Linked DNA regions of Homo sapiens: region 2 is linked to region 1. Evidence: promoter capture Hi-C in human tissues and cell types (Jung and others, 2019). All regions are on one chromosome and are shown on one strand. The core of a region is centred on a gene start or on the middle of the fragment in contact, and the rest is flanking DNA. Distances in the headings are between cores, read along the strand shown.

The links. Contacts are between HindIII fragments. The study calls those that stand out against the background at their distance.
Region 2: a contact is called between a fragment that was not itself captured here and the fragment with the promoter of CACNA1S in region 1, in 1 of the 25 tissues and cell types used here (thymus).

Annotation. Positions count from the first base shown.
Region 1 is chr1:201,110,928-201,115,974 of GRCh38, reverse strand. CACNA1S (calcium voltage-gated channel subunit alpha1 S) reads left to right here and starts at 3,549. Exons shown (of 44, transcript NM_000069.3): 1 at 3,549-3,787. The coding sequence starts at 3,636. It overlaps ASCL5 (achaete-scute family bHLH transcription factor 5), which reads left to right. Exons shown (of 2, transcript NM_001270601.2): 2 at 98-2,032. The coding sequence starts at 603. The coding sequence ends at 1,223. RefSeq lists an enhancer at 202-722 and a silencer at 1,373-1,422. The HindIII fragment of the contact is 14,734 bases long and covers 1-5,047 here.
Region 2 is chr1:200,580,636-200,585,521 of GRCh38, reverse strand. It overlaps KIF14 (kinesin family member 14), which reads left to right. Exons shown (of 30, transcript NM_014875.3): 20 at 4,228-4,321. Among named protein-coding and RNA genes, the nearest start is that of KIF14, 38 kb to the left of the region's middle. The HindIII fragment of the contact is 5,297 bases long and covers 47-4,886 here.

The DNA.
Region 1 (5,047 bases), core at 2,300-4,799:
GGCTTACAATCCCGTTTGCGGGTGGGGATGATACAAAGAAGCCCATAATACAGGTCTTTCCTAACTGATATGTTCACTCTCCTCTCCTCTTCTTTAGAAATGTTCCCGGGGACTCCCTCCACTGAGCTGGCGCACTCCTAACAGCAGCCATCAGTTTGGGGACCCCGGACAGCCCGGGGATCCCGAAGGCCGCGAGGACCAAGGACCAGGCGCTGGGGTGGGTGTGGAGGACATGGAGCCCGTGGTTTAGGCCTGAGGTGCCCATGTTGGGTGGCAGCAAGAGGCAGGGTGGGCGGGTCTGTGGCCATGCCCATGGGTGCTGCGGAACGGGGTGCGGGCCCTCAGAGTTCCGCGGCGCCATGGGCTGGCTCTGAGAAGGCGTGCACCGACCTCCTGAGAGGGGCCACACTTGTCTAGGGCGATGGCTCTTGTTAGGGAGTCATTGGAAGCCACCCTAAAGGGCGAAAAGAGGCCCTAGCAAGTCCTGGTACCCAAGAGCTGCTGCTAGCGATGTGACTTGCCCCACTGGTGGAGACGGTGCAGACCCCAAGCCGGGGCCATTCGGTGGAGGCCTCGCTCTGGGTCCAGCTCCACGCGGCACCATGAACAATAACTTCTGCCGGGCTCTGGTGGACCGGAGGCCTCTGGGGCCCCCCAGCTGCATGCAGCTGGGCGTCATGCCCCCTCCCCGGCAGGCGCCCCTGCCCCCCGCCGAGCCCCTGGGCAACGTGCCCTTCCTGCTGTACCCGGGCCCAGCAGAGCCGCCCTACTACGACGCCTATGCGGGGGTGTTCCCCTACGTGCCCTTCCCCGGCGCCTTCGGGGTCTACGAATACCCCTTCGAGCCAGCCTTCATCCAGAAGCGCAACGAGCGCGAGAGGCAGCGAGTCAAGTGCGTCAACGAGGGCTACGCTCGCCTCCGCGGCCACCTCCCCGGCGCCCTGGCTGAGAAGCGACTCAGCAAGGTGGAGACGCTGCGCGCCGCCATCCGCTACATAAAGTACCTGCAAGAGCTGCTGAGCTCGGCCCCCGACGGCTCGACGCCCCCCGCTTCCCGCGGCCTCCCGGGCACCGGGCCCTGCCCCGCGCCGCCCGCCACCCCCCGTCCCGACCGCCCTGGCGACGGCGAGGCCCGGGCGCCCTCCTCCCTGGTGCCGGAGTCATCCGAGTCCTCCTGCTTCTCCCCGTCGCCTTTCTTGGAGTCGGAGGAATCCTGGCATTGATCGGGCCTGTGGCCGCCCCCGGCTTGGAGGATGATCCGCCGGCCCCGTCCCACTTTCGGGAGCAGCGGGAGGCTGTTGGGTCACCCGCGATGCGCCGCAGGACGGTGACTGTAGGAGGTCCGCGGCGCTCCCGTGTCTGCGACACCCTCCCTCCTCCACCAGCTTGGGGCGGAAGTGCAGGGCAGCGGGTACGATGGGCACGATAGAGACCTAGGAGCTCCGTGGGTGAAGCGAGGGGCAGGGCCTGGGACTGCTCCGGGCGTCCTGCGTCCCCTCCGGGGTGCAGAGGGGCTCCCCAGGACGGTCATCCCTGGGTCTGGCTCCCGCTCGGCCTCAGGTGGCTCTGCTCCGTCCTTCCTTGCCGCAGGCGCAGTCCAGTCTCTGCGAGTCCCCGGGATGCGAGCCCGACTTTGAGCCCTCGGTTACCATGCCACTGCTCTCCACCAGATGGCCTCAGATACTAGCGACTTCTTTGGGAGCACGCTTACTCCTCGAGAAAGGAACCCAGAGGAAGGGATGGGAGGCCAGATTGCTGCTGGCGCTCAGCCCAGACCGAACCTACAGACTCAGCAGAGGCGACCTGTGTGCCCCGGTGGCGTTCTCTGGCTTCCTGGGTTGGGAGGGGGGGTTACTCCCTCCCCGCATCCCCCCCATGAGGTCGTCTAGTTTTGTCCCAGGTTGGGTGGGGACTGTGGTTTTTTTCCCTCAGACTGTAAGCCTTGGGGGAGGGGGGCGTGCATATAGGTACATAGGCACTGCGTCGGCACCAAAGAGCTAAATAAAAGGATTGTTGAATTTTCTCATTCCTAGATCATTGTCTACCCTCACCCTTCCTGGTGCCCCTTTCTTATTCTCACTCCCAGCCCAGAGTACTTGCTGGGAGGATATGTGGGGTTCGCTGTTAGCTCAGCACATTTAAGATTCAGTGTTGTTAGCTCAGGCGTTCAATGAATTTTTTTTTTTTTTTTTTTTTTTTTGAGACAGGTTTTGCTCTGTTGCCCAGACTGGAGTGCAGTGATTCAATCCCTGCTCACTGCAACCTCCTTCTCCTGGGTTTGAGCAATTCTCCTGCCTCAGCCTCCAGAGTAGCTGGGATTATAGGTGCACACCACCACGCCCGCTAATCTTTGGTATTTTTAGTAGAATGCGGGTTTCACCATGTTGGCCATGCTGGTCTCGAATTCCTCACCTCAAGTTATCTACCTACCTTGGTTTCCCAAAGTGCTGGGATTACCGTGGCTATCCTCAATGAACTTTTCTTTTTGAGACAAGGTCTCACTCTGTCTCACTCTGTCATCCAGGCTGGAGTGCAGTGGCCAGATCTTGGCTCATTGCAGCCTCAACCTCCCAGGCTCAACTGATCCTCCCACCTTGGCCCCCCTAGTAGCTGGGACTACAAACACACACCACCATACCCTGCTAATTTTTGTATTTTTTGTAGAGACAGAGTTTCACTACGTTGCCCCGACTGGTCTTGAAGTCCTGAGCTCAAGCCATTCTCCCACCTCAGCCTCCCAAAGTGTTGGGATTACAGGCGTGAGCCACCATGCCTGGCCTCAGTGAACATTTACAGGGAGCATAGTACATAGGGGGACTGTGCAGAGAAGGGGCCAGAGTCCCAGAGATAATGCACACAACCTTTACACCTGTAGGGATGGGAGGAGATGGGGAAGAAAGATACACAGCAGATGCTCCACAGTGAGGCAGGTGCTATGCCAGAGGTGTGCACACTCAGGGTTGTTCTGGGAGCCTTCTAGCCCACTGGAGAGGGGTTTACTGTTTCTCTGACATGGGATTGCTTGTGGGGGTGGGTTGAGGGTATGCTTGGGGAGTTTTGGCTGATGGTGCAGATACTGAGATGGGTAGGGGCTGCTGTGGAGCTGTCCTGACTTAGGCTGCCCAGTGCCTTCTCCAGACAATGTCATGGGGCTGAGGAGGGGTAAGCCTAATTTTGGCATGAGGGGGCCACTCTGCAGTTTGAGGTTCCATATCCAAGGCTACCTATTCCTGACCTCTGTTGCCCCAGGCTTGAAACCTTCCATCCTGTCTCCCTCTCCCACTGCCCCTGCCCCATCCCAGGCCTGTGTGTAAGTTCTTCCCCCGACCCACCCCACCCTCCTCAGGGGACAGATTGGGAAGTCACTGGCTGGGCTGGGTGGAATGACAGCTGCCTGGCCTCAGAAGCTCAGGCCCGGCAGCGGGGAGCCGAGTGGAGGCTAATTTTACTTGCTGGGAGCGAGGAGAGTAATCCTCCTGCCCCCACTCCTGCCCCCGCCCCCTGGCTGGCTCAGCAGGGCAGGCTCAGCCGACAGCCTCAGCCAGCCTAGTCCCCAAGGCGGGGGCATTGGGGACACAGGGAAGGGAAAGCACTGGGGTGGGGGAGCAGGAGAAAGCCAGATTCCCAGGGAAGCCATGGAGCCATCCTCACCCCAGGATGAAGGCCTGAGGAAGAAACAGCCCAAGAAGCCAGTTCCTGAGATTCTGCCAAGGCCACCCCGGGCCTTGTTCTGCCTGACCCTGGAGAACCCCCTGAGGAAGGCCTGCATCAGCATTGTAGAATGGAAGTATCCTTCAGGGCCCGGGCCGTGGGGGGGGGTGTGCGTCATGAGGGAGGGATTCGGGGTGATCACAGAGCACAAACTTCCTACAGGAGGGCCAGGGAGGCCTGGCACTTAGACATGGGGTGAACTCACAGAATTGAGTGAGGAGCTGGGGGAAGGAGCCCTCGGCTAAGCAGGAGAGGAGGAGGAGGAAGAGGAGGAAGACGAGGAGGGTGGGGGAGGAGGAGGAAGAGGAGGAGGGTGGGGGAGGAGGAGGAAGAGGAGGAGGAGGAAGAGGAAGAGAAGGAGGACTTGGTGGGGCTTCCTGGGCCTGAGTGGGCCACCCAAGTCCTGGATGACAACCAGAGATGCCTACTGACCACCTATGGGTGGGGCCTGTTTCATGGGGACTGTTCCCATGTGTGCCCAAATCCACATTATCATGGGGTGCCACTAGGTTTTTGAAGCACCAGCCTCATTTTAGAATAGGATAGGGACCAAAAAAAGATGCGATGGCCTCTTTGAGAAAACTCTCCCTTGTTTGGGTTGGGTGGGGGGTGACAGTGGACAGAGGTGAGCTGAAGGAAGGCTTCCTCTGGGGGCAGGTCCCAGCTGAGGACAGAGCCAAGGGGAGAAATGGATCTGAAAGACACCTGGTCTCAGTGGCTCCAAGACACAGGCCAAACAAGCCTGGTTGTTCTAGCTCAGACGTGCCACCCTGGGGACAGGGACTTTGAAACTCATGCTATGTTTGCATTTGCTCTGGTGGGGAGAATGATGAAAATATCTGGGTTATTTGGGGAAGGGAGGAAGGAGTGACAGAGAGAAGGGGAGGGCTGTGTCAAGTGGGTTCTGAGAGCGAGGGTGGGGCATATTTGAAATATTTCTGAAGAGTTCTGGAAGGCTGGGCTCCTACCAGCTGTTCCCTAGAAGGAAGGAGAATGAGGGATAACTGGAAGGACAAGAGAAACGTGGGGCAAGTAGAGATAGTTTGGGGTCAGGGTCAGCCCTGTTCCCCTGACCCGCTCTCGGCCAGGCGGTATATCGCCCACATCAAACCCTCCTAGGCCCTCCCTCCTTGCCTCTCTTCTGCAATCAGGTTTACTCTGTGGGTTCTCCCTCTCCTCCATCCTCTGCTCCTCTGCGCCCTGCCCCTGTGGCCCTCCTCTTTTCTCAAACACTGGAGGTTACTGGGAAGAGAATGGGATTTTTCTGTCAAGCCCAACTACGTAATATGCCTCCCCATCCACCCCCAAACAACTCCCTCGCTTCCTCCCTTGCTTT
Region 2 (4,886 bases), core at 1,446-3,945, 530 kb after region 1:
TGCAGCATGTTTTTAAAAAATATATCTTATTCTAATTCTTAATCTTTGTTTTATATCTGTTAATAGTTGTGCTTAGTCATGGATTACGTTGTTTTCTTTTTCACTTAGACATTTTTTTCTTAAGAGATTTTTTTTCTAGCTTTACTGAGATGTAATTAACAAATAAAAATTATGTATATTTAAGATGTACAACATGATGTTTTTACATATATTGCAAAATGATTACCATAATCAAGCTAGTTAACATATTTATCACCTCACCTAGTTCTTTTTTTTTTTTTTGTCATGAGGACACTTAGGATATACTCTCTTATTTCAAGTATACAATACAGTATTATTAATTATAGGCAACTTTCTGTTCATTAGACCTCCAGAGTGTATTCATCCTGCATAACTGAAACTTTGTACCCTTTGACCAACATCTTCCCATTCCCCTATCCTGTATTTCCTGGTAACCATCATTCTACTCTCTGTGCCTATGAGTTTAACATTTTTAGATTCCACATATAAGTGAGATCATATAGTATTTATCTTTCTATGTCTGGCTTATTTCACTTTTGGTGGTGTTATTAGAGTTTTCTATATATAAGATCATGTCGTCTATAAACTAACAATTTTACTTCTTCCTTCTCAGTTTGGATACCTTTTATCTCTTTTTCTTGCCCAGCTGGTTTTGTTAGGACTTCCAGTACTATGTTCAATAGAAGTGGTGAGAGTAGGCATCCTTGTCATGTGCCTGATCTTAAAGGAAAAGCTTTCAGCTATTTGCCATTGAAGATGTTAGGTATGGGCTTGTCATATATAGCCTTTATTATGTTGAGGTACATTCTTCTATATCTAATTTGTTGAGAGTCTTTATCATAAAAGGATGTTGTAGTTTGTCAAAGGTTTTTTGCACCTATTGAAATGATCATATGATTTTTATCCTTATTCTGTTAATGTGGTATATCACATTTATTGATTTGTATATGTTAAACCATCCTTGCATCCCAGTGATAAACCCCACTTGATCATGGTGTATGATCCTTTTAATGTGCTGTTGAATTTGGTTTGCTAGTATTTTGTTGAAGATTTTTGGATCTATGTTCATCAGGGATATTGGCCTGTAGTTTTCTTTTCTTGTAGTGTCTTTGTCTGGCTTTAGTATCAGGGTAATGCTGGCCTTGCAAAAGGAATTGGAAATGTTCCCTCCTCTTCAGCTTTTTGGAAGAGTTTGAAAAGGGTTAGCATTAATTCTTCTTTAATTGTTCGGTAGACTTCACCAGTGAAGCCATTAAGTCCTGTGAGACCTTTTTTTTTTTTTTTTGAAACAGAGTCTTATGTGTTGGCAGGCTGGAGTATGGTGGCACGATCTCAGCTTACTGCAACCTCCGCCTCCCGGGTTCAAGTGATTCTCCTGCCTCAGCTTCCCAAGTAGCTGGGAGTACAGTTTTTGTATTTTTAGTAGCGATGGGGTTTCACCATGTTGGCCAGGATGGTCTCTACCTCCTGACCTCGTGATCCACCCACCTCAGCCTCCCAAAGTGCTGGGTTTACAGTTGTGAGCCACCGGGGCCCGGCCCGACTATTTTTTTTTTTTTTAAAGTCTTTTTGTTGTTGTTGCCCAGGCTGGAATGCAGTGGTGTGATCTTGGCTCACTGCAGCCTCTGCCTCCCAGGCTCAAGCGATTCTCCTGCTTCAGCTTCCTGAGTAGCTGGGATTACAGGCATGCACCACCATGCCCAGCTAAGTTTTGTATTTTTAGTAGAGACAGGGTTTCACCATGTTGGCCAGGCTGGTATCAAACTTCTGACCTCAGGTGATCTGCCTGCCTCGGCTTCCCAAAGTGCTGGGATTACAGGTGTGAGCCACCATGCCTAGCCAAGTCCTGGGAGACTTTTGATTGCACTTTTTTTGGTACATTTCTATGTAAAACACAGCATATTTTTAATATAAACTTTTTTATTATGGAAAATTTTAAACAAACTATAAAAGTAGAGATTGCTGCAGTAAGCCTTTATATATTTATCCAACTTCAATGATTATCAACACATGTTCAATCTTGTTGCCGCTATCCTCAAGCTCACTGCTTCCCTGGACTAGTTTGAAGCAAATCCCAGACACCATATCATTTAAGGTGTACACACTTCACTGTGTATCTCTAAATTAGATAAGGACTCTCTTTTTGCTCTCCCTCTCTCTCTTTCTCTGTCACTCTTTTAAGCATTGCCATAACTATATTAATAATAATTTCTTACACATCACATATTTACTCCATATTCGTATTTCCTGGATTGTTTCATCCTTTTTTTAAAAAAAAAACTTGATTTGTTTGAATCAGGATACCAACATCATCTACACATTGCGTTTGGTAGATGTGCCTTTTAAGTCTCTTTTAATCTGTAAATTCACTCTTCTCTTTCATCTAGTAATTTGCTGAAGAAATCAGATGATTTGTCCTGTAGAGTTTTTTTGGATTCTGGATTTTGCTGATTGTGTCTGCCTGGTGTTACTTAACAGGCTCCTCTGTTCCAGTATTCCCTAGAAAGTGGTAGTTAGATCTTCAGGCCTATCAAATTCAGGTTCAGTTTTTTAGCAAGAATACTTGGTAGGTATGTTGTGTACTTTCTGTAACTTCTTTAAAATAACTTTTAAAATATTAATACTCTTTTTTTTTTTTTCTGAGACAGAGTCTTGCTCTGTCACCCAGGTTGGAGTGCATTGGAGTGCAGTAGCGCAATCTCAGCTCACTGCAACTTCTGTCTCCCGCTTTCAAGCAATTCTCCTGCCTCAGCCTCCCGAGTAGCTGGGACTACAGGCATCCGCTACCACGCCTGACTAATTTTTGTATTTTTAGTAGAAACAGTGTTTCACCATGATGGCCAGGCTAGTTTCAAACTCCTGACCTCAGGTGATCCACCGGCCTTGGTCTCCCAAAGTGCTGGGATTACAGCTGTGTGCCACTTCACCCAGCCAATACTCTTTGTATCTATTGCCAGGAGGCAATACTTTTATTCTTCTGAGGGCCTAGACAGTGCCTTACAATGATTACTTGATTTTTTAATTCATGTGAATGAGTTTATCCTTCCAAAAAGCTATTTTTAGTAGATTACTGGTTATAAGTTTGTCTGAACAATATAGAAAATATTTATGATAAATTTTTTTTTTTTGAGACAAAGTCTTGCTCTGTCACACAGGCTGGGGTGCAGAGTGCCATCATAGCTGACTGCAACCTCAAACTCCTGGGCTCAAGTGATCCTCTTGTCTCAGGCTCTCCAGTAGCTAGGACTACAGGTGCATGCTTCCTTGCTTGGCTAATTTATTTTATTTTCTAGAGATAGGGTGCCACTATATTGCCCAGGCAAGCCTTGAAATTCTGGCCTTCAAGTGATCCTCCTGCCTCAGCCTCCCAAAATATGGGGATTATAGACATGAGCTACTGTGCCCAGTCATAATCTTAAATTCAAATTAGGAGCTGGGTGTGGTGGCTCATGTCTGTAATCCCAGCATTTTGGAAGGCTGAGGCAGGTAGATTGCTTAAGCCCAGGAGTTCAAGACCAGCCTGAGCAACATGGCAAAACCTCCTCTCTACAAAATATAAGAAAGTTAGCTGGGTGTGGTGGCATGCACCTGTAGTTCCAGCTACTTGGAAGGCTGAGATGGGAGGATCACTTGAGCCTGGGGAGGTCAAGGCTGCAGTGAGCCATGCTTGAGCCACTGTACTATATAGCCTAGGCAACCTAGTGAGACCCTGACTCAAAAAAAAAAAAAAAAAAAAAAAGGAAAGTGAAATTGTGTACTAAATTATTTTCCTTTTTTATTTTAATGTCCTGACATATATATATACATTTTTTAAAATTTTTAGGCAAAATACAAAAGGACATGTTTCTACATAAGTAAGACTATAGAATACTCAATACTTGAAATAATTTAGAAATGAGGAAGAAAGAAAAAAGACATTAGAAAAAAAATTTTTTTCTAGATATTAGAAAGTAAAGCATTGTCTTTGGCTTATCTTTTTTATATCAACTTCCATTTTCTTACATCTTCCCACAGGCAAAAACCTCATTTTATAGGAAAAATGTTTTATTTCACCAAATTACTCAAATATCACTTATCCTTCTGCAATATAGAGTTAAAACCATTCATTTAAAATCAGTGATTTTTTTTTTAGGAATTGTTTTGCCTAATGGTATATGTTAGTGTCCATGTATGTATTTTGAATCTTTTCTGTGTGCTTTGTATTAGTGCAGACAACTTGGAGCTCTATGAAACTCTCAATGATGATTCAGGAAGCCAATGCTATCAGCAGCAAATTGAAAACATACTATGTTTTTGGCAGGTGAGTAATTAATTATCCTGATTTTAAATGTTTTAAACAAGTTGGCCTTTATATCATTTAGTTTCTCTTTTTTTTTTTTTTTTTTCTGAGACAGAGTCTTGCTCTGTTGCCCAGGCTGGAGTGCAGTGGCGCAATCTGGGCTCACTGCAACCTCCACCTCCCGGGTTCAAGCAATTCTCCTGCCTCAGCCTCCTGAGTAACTGGGATTACTGGGTGGTGTGCGCCACCACACCCAGCTAATTTCTGTATTTTTAGTTAGAGATGGGGTTTCACCACGTTGGCCAGGCTGGTTTCAAACTCTTGACCTAGTGATCCGCCTGACTTGGCCTCTCAAAGTGCTGGGATTACAGGTGTGAGCCACTGCGCCCGGCTATCATTTAGTTTCTCTAAAGTCCATTCTACAGCTATAGGAAAGAGCTGGTATCAGAATCCCCAGAATCCCCAGTGAGACTTTATCCTTTCAGAGGTCATTCTGGATTAAGAGAGATTTCAACAATTAACATACTAGTATATTTATAAATAAAATAATTTTAGTTGTTTTAGGAATTTGCTAATTTTCTTTTGA